Regions from separate parts of the Homo sapiens genome. Here regions 1 and 3 are each linked to region 2. The links are contacts of gene promoters, found by promoter capture Hi-C in human tissues and cell types (Jung and others, 2019). All regions are on one chromosome and are shown on one strand. Each heading gives the region's core, a stretch centred on a gene start or on the middle of the fragment in contact. The rest is flanking DNA. Distances are from core to core; before and after follow the strand shown.

Region 1 (2,878 bases), core at 238-2,737, 1.2 Mb after region 2:
TTATAGTTATTTCTTGATGATATGTTAAACAAGAGTTGGTATTCATGCCTCCTCTTTTTAGACCATATAGGGTAACTTCCTGACATTGCCACGGCATTTATAAACTGTCGTGGCACTGATGGGAGTGTAGTAGTTAGGACAACCAGAGGTCACTCTCATTGCCGTCTTAGTTTCAATGCGTTAGAGCTGGCTTCTTTACTGCAAACTGTTTTATCAGCAAGGTCTTTAAGACCTGTATCTTGTGCTGACCTCCTATCTCATCCTGCAACTTAGAATGCCTTAACCATCTGGGAATACAGCCCAGTAGGTCTCAGCCTCATTTTACCCAGCTCCCATTCAAAATGGAGTTGTTCTGGTTCACACACCTCTGAAAATGGTGTACAAGTATATTTGCTCCCCTTACTGAGGCAGATTAGAGGTTTTTCTTCATCAGTTTATGAACCAACACAATCTGATTTGTATGACTGCTTTGGGACAGACTTGATACCCATGGATTTTAACATAGAATCTGAATACCAATCAATTCTCATATCCTGAATCACTGTTTATTTAAAGAAATGAAAGATGGGCCAAAGGTTAAAAATTCTCCTTTTATCATTTTCTTTATAGTCAAAGCAAAAGGGGTGGTTCATCTACAGTGATTCTTTTTCAGAAAAGTAATGTCTTTGATGTTTAAGGGAGGAAACAAGCCTTCTGAAAACTACTATTCTCACTCCTCAGGAAAAAGAGAAAAGAAAAGGAAAAAAAAAAAACTAATCCAAACACTAGTCTTTTGAAAGAGAAAAATTCTTTTGGGTGTACTAAAGCCTATTTTACCATTGAATTTTGAACATATTCTCAAGTTATATTAGAACATAATGTATTTTCATTTTAGTGTTAGGCCAAATATTATATTAAGTAATGCCTTTACCAATTCAGTTATGAATTCTACAGTCTATAATCCTCCTTTGTATGTTTTAGTAACTCAAAATCTGCTCTATTTCTTCTAAGAATAATTTTCTAATATTCTTCTTTTTCCACTAAAGCAGACTATTTCTTTTTATTGAAGTTCCATTTTGCAATGTTCATTAGATGTTGAATGTCTGTCAATATCCACAAGTCTCCATGTTCCCCATCCTTTATGCCTTTCAACTTTCATTTTCCTCAGTGCAAACACTTCCATATTTTTACTTTCATATTATTCTTTAAGGACTTGAATGATGACAAAACCACTTTCAGAAAGAGCTGGGTCAGTAATATAAGGCATCTTTTATAAGATTCTCTACCATGCATAACAGAGCAAAACAGGAACCAAGAGAAAGCAAACTAGAGTTGTGTGAAATTGCTCATTTATTCTCAAATAGTTTTCAGTTTTTCATGAAACTGCTGAAAAATTCACAAATTGTATTCCAATGAGATGAATGTTTTTTTCCTAAGTTTTCATCAAAACTTTCATCTTTGGGTACACATTGTATATGCATAAGACATCCTGTTCCTATGTGTGTTGGTAGTACCTGCTTGTTCATAGGCATGAAAATGAAAGAAGGATATTAAATATGTACAAACTGCCTGATTGGATAAGGAAAAATGCAAATAGTGCTGTGTGTAGTGAATACACACCGATGTATGGGTGGGTGTGCACGTTTTCCCCTTTTCACAAGTCCAAAATAAAGAGACAAAGTTTAAAGATTTTTCTAATAGATCGTTTTTTCTTGATTTGTTCTTTTTACCTTTTTGGCTCATTTTATTGTGAGAAACCAATTTATATATCAGAATCTCTTCACTTTTATGCATAGTAAGGAAAAAATAATAATAAATGGCTCAGATGCTTTGACACTTTCCCAGCATTCTTAGTTTCCAGGTATAAAATTTCCTTTTGATGATAATGTAAGAATTCATTCATTCCCTGCTTCAAGTTGTAATTTTCTGAACAAATAACTTTAAATGTCATTGTCCCTGTATTCTATACTACTACAGCAAGTTTGAGGATGTGCTAGTTCGAAATACATATAGAGGGTACATTAAAATTGGTTTTCATTTATATGCATTTAAATAATATTAAAGTACTGCTTAATTTGGGTGAAGTAAATTATTCTCTCATATAACACTGACCGAGATATTTGCTATAAAATATTTTATATATTTGATATAAAATGCTATTTCGAGCCACATAAGTGATTTTTCTTTCCTCCTCCCCTTCCTTCCTTTCCTCTCTCCCTTCCCTTCCTTCCTCCCATCCTTTCTTTTTCTTTTTCCTTTCTTTTTAAGTTTTATTTTCCATTTCTTTCTTCACTGTCTTCCTTTCTTCTTTCATTCTTTCTATTTTTATCTTTTCTCTTTCCTTCCATTCTTTCCTTCTTTTCTTCCTCACACCCTCCCTCCCACCCTCTCTTTTTATCTTTTTCCAAAATCTCAAACCTTCTCATATTTGATCTTCCATTTTCACAAAGGCCAGTCAAAAAACCTAAAGTGAAGTTGGGTAGAGGTAAAGCAGTAGGATATAGCGAGGTCTGTGGACACTTGGAGTCAGTGTGCCCAGCCTAAAGGCTTTAAATTGTAAGAAGTTTTATAATGCTCTGGGAGGTGTATTCAGCCTGCTTTATTCAGTTTGTAGTGCCATGCTAAAGCTTTGAAACTTTAAACAACTCTTTGTCTTGATTTCCTATACCTCCCATCTACCAATGGATTCATTTATATTCTTCTAGGACTTTCATGGTTTTGCTTATTGAGGATAGCTTGATAAGAGATTATCACAGTCAACCATATACCGTGTCTTCTCAGCATACACAAGGCATCTTTGTAAGCGTATGTGAAAGGTATTCTGCATTTTTAAATTTGTGCTTTTAAGAAAAGGAATTGTATGCTGTTTGTTTTTCATTGCTACTCTTTTTAGGTTCTT
Region 2 (2,771 bases), core at 115-2,614:
ACTGCACAATTAACTGTACACATCGATGTTGGACTTTGTGAATAGAAAAAATTGAGAGGAAAATCTTGAACTATGATGCGAGGCTAAGCTGGGAACAATTACTGGAAACCTGATTTTGTTTTTCCTTTTCCAAGACTCTGAAAAATTTCGGGGTACCTCTCGCCTAACCAAGAGGAAAGGTTTAAAAAAAATAAACAAAATAAATAAACCAATACACCTAGCAAAGCAGACGCCTTGTTTTCCAGAACCTCGGACTCCGGCAGAAAGAGGTAGAGTAAAAGTGCTGCTAGATTCAGCTTCACCTTCTTCCCTCCATCCTTTTCTCTTGCATTTTCTTTTTCCCCAAAAACATGAATCTGGTTTTTCTTTCTATAGACTGAGTCAGAGAAAGCGTTAGGAAGAAGCCGCAACTAATGTCTGTGAAGGGAGGACCATGAGGCGAGAGTGAATACGATTCGTTCCGCTGCTTCTGACTCATCCGGCAGATCGGAACACCTGCATTTCTGGATGTGTCATTCCCGTATGTCGAGGCGCCTCCAGAACCCGAAATAATGTGTAGACAGACCTGTGTCTAACATCCCCTCGGAGGGAGCTCCCCGGGGTAGGAGCCCCTGGCTGGACCGCCGCGGCCGCAGCTCTGCACCCCCTGCCCTCCCTGAGTCGCCCAGAAAAACTGAAAGAGAGACTGCAGAATGCATCACGCCAAACCTTGATGTGTTGCTTTCATCCAGCCCACTCCTCCTACTATAAGAGAAAATTGAAGGAAAAAAAAAAACACGTACTTTATTTGCTTCAAATATTCATCACTTTTATTCCTCGCCAAGGTTTTCTTTTCTAGATGAAGAGGACTGGGAGGCAGGGCTATTGGAAGGAGATGCTGAATAGAAAGAAAAGAGGCACTTGACAGCCCAGCCCTGTGAATGCAGAGACTGTTTCCCTTCTAGCGAGAGACAGGGAGAGTGTGTGTGCAAGGACTGGGAGGGAGGCTCCCCCTTCCTTTTTATTCGGCCTCCCCCCTCCTCCTTTAAATGTGCACGTCCAACCATGAGTTGCCTGTTGATTTCCCTTCGCCTGGGAAGAAAAGCAAACTGGAATTAAACTGCTTGGAGAGAAGTCCTTGCTCGCGGGGAGAGGATGGGATGGTAGCGGAGGCTACTGGCTTGGCGTAGAGAAATCAGAGAGTGTGTTCTACGAACAGAGGCGAAGATTTATCTCTCTACTTCCCCCCTCCCAATAGACTCACACAGCAAATGCTGATCAGGCTGTGGCTTTCTTGATTTCGGGGGAGAGCCTTTTCCGAGGAAGAGAGGGAGGAGCCTGGTGGGGAGAGGAAACTACAAATCGGGACACTAGTTCTTTACGCTGCATTTCCTCCCCTCCCTTTGGCTGCTCGGAAAGGAGAGAGAGGAAAAAAAAAATACGCTTGGCTGGTAGATGCAGTCCGCCGCCGCCGCTGCCTCAGCCAGCAATGCAAGATTAGATCTCTAAATGCAGCAAAACACTGCCTGAAAACAGACCGGCCCGCGCAGCAAGCAGACATTTCACGGTGCGCTGGGGAAGCTTCAAAATATATCTGTGACTCTGTCTTCGTTGCTCTTCATCCCCATCAATTTCATCACGGGAGGCGAGCAGCAAGTAAGAATTTCACTTTCGGATCTGCCTAGAGACACACCTCCCTGCTCCCTCCCCCACTCGATGTGAAGAGTATTCCGGAGTCTCCGGGCGGGAGTAGATTTGCAGCACCCTAGCGGGAGCGAGGAAAACCTACTGATTCTTTAGCTCATTATCATCTCTCCCAGACGAGATTTCCTTCTTATCGCCTGCCTCATCGCTCAAGTTTGAGCCTCCCGAAGTCCGGGCGGGAGAGACGAAACCCCTGGCTCACCCCCAGCCGCAGGAAGCCACCGCCTTGCTCCAAGCCCCTGCAGCTCTGCTGCACCGCAGCTTCTCACCCAGTGCGGATGCTGTAGATCAACAGGTTCAGGGAACTTGAGCAGAATAAGGAGAGACCACCGGGTGCCGCAGCTCGGGTGCAGAGGGAAAAAAGGACCCATAGACTTGTGGCTCGCGTCGCGCGCGCACGCTGCGCCAGGGCCCCAGGCTGGCGCGCACTCCCTCTCTGGCTCCTCCAGTCCGATTGCTCCTGCCCCCACCTTACAGGTCTGGGATGTACCTTTCCATCTGTTGCTGCTTTCTTCTATGGGCCCCTGCCCTCACTCTCAAGAACCTCAACTACTCCGTGCCGGAGGAGCAAGGGGCCGGCACGGTGATCGGGAACATCGGCAGGGATGCTCGACTGCAGCCTGGGCTTCCGCCTGCAGAGCGCGGCGGCGGAGGGCGCAGCAAGTCGGGTAGCTACCGGGTGCTGGAGAACTCCGCACCGCACCTGCTGGACGTGGACGCAGACAGCGGGCTCCTCTACACCAAGCAGCGCATCGACCGCGAGTCCCTGTGCCGCCACAATGCCAAGTGCCAGCTGTCCCTCGAGGTGTTCGCCAACGACAAGGAGATCTGCATGATCAAGGTAGAGATCCAGGACATCAACGACAACGCGCCCTCCTTCTCCTCGGACCAGATCGAAATGGACATCTCGGAGAACGCTGCTCCGGGCACCCGCTTCCCCCTCACCAGCGCACATGACCCCGACGCCGGCGAGAATGGGCTCCGCACCTACCTGCTCACGCGCGACGATCACGGCCTCTTTGGACTGGACGTTAAGTCCCGCGGCGACGGCACCAAGTTCCCAGAACTGGTCATCCAGAAGGCTCTGG
Region 3 (2,819 bases), core at 49-2,548, 1.4 Mb after region 2:
TTTAGGAGGCCGAGGCAGGCAGATCACCTGAGGTCGGGAGTTTGAGGCCAGCCTGACCAACATGGAGAAACCCCGTCTCTACTAAAAATACAAAAGTAGCTGGGCACAGTGGTGCATGCCTGTAATCCCAGCTACTCGGGAGGCTGAGGAAGGAGAATTGCTTGAACCTGGGAGGCAGAGGTTGTGGTGAGCCGAGATTGCACCATTGCACTCCAGCCTGCGCAACAAGAGTGAAACTCCATCTCAAAAATAAAATAAGAATAACAATAACAATAACTCCAGACATTGCTAAATGTTCCCTGAGTAATAAAATCACAGCTGGGTTAGGATTACTGAAGATGAATAAAATAAATATTAACTTTTCCAACTTCCCTCCTGGCTTGGAGGTGACAGATGACCAAGTTATAACCAATGAGATATAAGAAAAACATAAAGGAACTATTCTGAAAATTATTGTCGTCCTTAGATAAAGCTCCTGTTTCTCTGGTTTGGTTAAGGTGCCTCGTTTAGAGCTGAGGTTACCATTTTTTGAGCATGAGAGGAATGTCAAAAGCATACCTGGCATGCTGATTCAGAGCCTGAATGTTGTGAAGCTCTTGCTCAAAGCCAGCAGTCACCTACCCACAAACTTGTTGCCATGAGAGTAAAATAATCCTGCCATTACTATACATGCTTTAGTCAGCTTCTCTTTTACCTGCAACTGGAGACATTCTGCATAACTATAAACAAGGTATTATTGTTTTTGAAACTTCTCACAACTATCAAATGGGGATAATAATACTGGCAAGTTGTAGAAATTGTTCACAGCATGAAAAAAAGACAATATGCCTTAAAAAGATAAAGCTTAACACATAATAGGTGCTCAGTAAATGGTAGCTATTGTCGTCATTGGCATGGTGTCAATTGATGAATAACAAATATACTTTTAATTCCTCCTTATTCTTTCTAGAGTAATATTTCAAAAGAAAGTTCCCAGAACCTCTTATGTTAAAAGGCCTGAAATGACAATTCCTATTGGGATCTAAAAAAAGGATTTAAGGATTAATGGAGCTTCTGAAATTATATTTGAAAAATTTAAATTGCATACATGCATTAACTCAGGACAGAGTCCACTGCTTTTAATGGGTTTTTTAAAGGGGCTCGAAACTTGTTTATCCAAAAATGGGTTAATAATGAACACTTAGAAGCTTCTTGGCTTGGTAGGGTTACTGTAAGTTAGTGAATTTAGATAGGCTGCTTTTGAGGAAAAATAATATGTCAAGAAGTTCAGAAGGAAAAGAGATTTGCTTATTACAAACTTACAACCTGGGTGGTCTGATGAAAAGGAGAAGGCAGGCTGTATAAGCACAGGAGTGATGTTAGCTTTTGAAGAAACACCAAAAACACCTCTTCAAGAATTTAAAATGAGAACTTTCTCTTCAAGAAAAGACAAAAAAAAAAAAAGCTTCCTTCTTTAATGAATTTTGTTTCTTCAATTACAAGACAAAATTGGGAGGTGAAGACAAGACTTTCTCCTCCCTAAAATGGCATATTTGAACTTCCTTGAAAACATAATATAAACAAATACATCGATTATATTTGATTCAATACAATGAGAACAAACTTAATTTGAATTAAATTTGCTGGGCATCATGTTTTTTTGCCTAAGGCATACATTATTCTGGCCTGACTATTATGAATACAATAATTTAAGGTAATTTATCCTAAGCTTTAGCTATCTTTCAAAAAATATTATCAATAGATTATTTTTTTTAAAAAAAAACCCTTCTTTTGAGGAATTCATCATTCTTCCTTTTACATATTTGAGAAAAGGATACTTTTTTCAGAGGAAACTATGGAAAGAAATGATCACAATTAGAAAATGAGAGAGAAGACAAGAGATGGGAGAAGAGGATGAAGGTTAAAAAAATGACAAATCTTGGGAAATGAATCTAATCTTGTGGAGCATCTTTGAATTCGCTATTTTATTGCAACTAATAGCATTTTGATAGGATTAATTTACTTTACATGGATAAGAAAGCTACTCAGAAAATATTTTGTCCACCAATGCTAAATAAAATGAACTCAATTTATATATGAAATTAAATGTACTTACTGAAACTTTATTATAAATTGTCAATTTGAAAAACTAGGTGGAATACTAGAAATTCTCCTGTTATATGACAGAATTTAATCAGTTATCTGGCATGCACATTTGCCACACATTGCATTTTCTTAAACAATAGAACAACCTGTTCCCTGAACCATTTCCCTGAATGAGGCTTGTAAAAATTCCTATAATATCACTGAAGGTCATTGTCAAGTATCAGAGATTTTTTAGATTTGCCAGCAGAGATACCTAAGGAATACTAACCAACTCAGTCCTTCAACAACAATTATCCTTATTAAATAAATGTATCAGATGAATCTTCAGCACAAAAGAAATTAGAACTACTACGGCAAATCTGCAGTGTAAATCCATGGCAGTAACTGATTTTCGCAAGAGAATATTAATCAAGAAAAGTTTTAACTTTATCAACTCCACTAATGAAAAGACATTTTCTGTTACATATCACACAAAGCCTGATGGGGTGAAGGAGTGCAAGCCTTAAGCCTCTAGATTTTAGCTGATGTATTACTTCTCCAAATTCACAATGCTTTTGAAGTGCCTCAGATCTTAAATCAAGGAACCTGCACTACAAAGAAGAGAGTTGCAGTGAAATTAACTTTTTCCTATCCTTGTATATGGTATTATTTTTCTTGTTTTAATACCTTAACATGAAAGATGTGTAATACCGACAGAGGCAGTCATTTTATATAAAAGACTGGAATAGCTAATT

The links. The method cuts DNA at HindIII sites, captures the fragments that hold promoters and counts their contacts. A contact is called where the count stands out against the background at its distance.
Region 1: a fragment that was not itself captured here is called in contact with the fragment with the promoter of PCDH17 in region 2 in 1 of the 25 tissues and cell types used here (lymphoblastoid cells).
Region 3: a contact is called between a fragment that was not itself captured here and the fragment with the promoter of PCDH17 in region 2, in 1 of the 25 tissues and cell types used here (lymphoblastoid cells).

The regions. Positions count from the first base shown.
Region 1 is chr13:58,878,055-58,880,932 of GRCh38, forward strand. No RefSeq gene overlaps it. Among named protein-coding and RNA genes, the nearest start is that of LINC00374, 650 kb to the left of the region's middle. The HindIII fragment of the contact is 3,239 bases long and covers 1-2,878 here.
Region 2 is chr13:57,630,380-57,633,150 of GRCh38, forward strand. It overlaps PCDH17 (protocadherin 17), which reads left to right and starts at 1,365. Exons shown (of 4, transcript NM_001040429.3): 1 at 1,365-2,771. The coding sequence starts at 2,168. RefSeq lists an enhancer at 1,872-2,551. The HindIII fragment of the contact is 5,195 bases long and covers 1-2,483 here.
Region 3 is chr13:59,047,175-59,049,993 of GRCh38, forward strand. No RefSeq gene overlaps it. Among named protein-coding and RNA genes, the nearest start is that of LINC00374, 820 kb to the left of the region's middle. The HindIII fragment of the contact is 3,009 bases long and covers 1-2,803 here.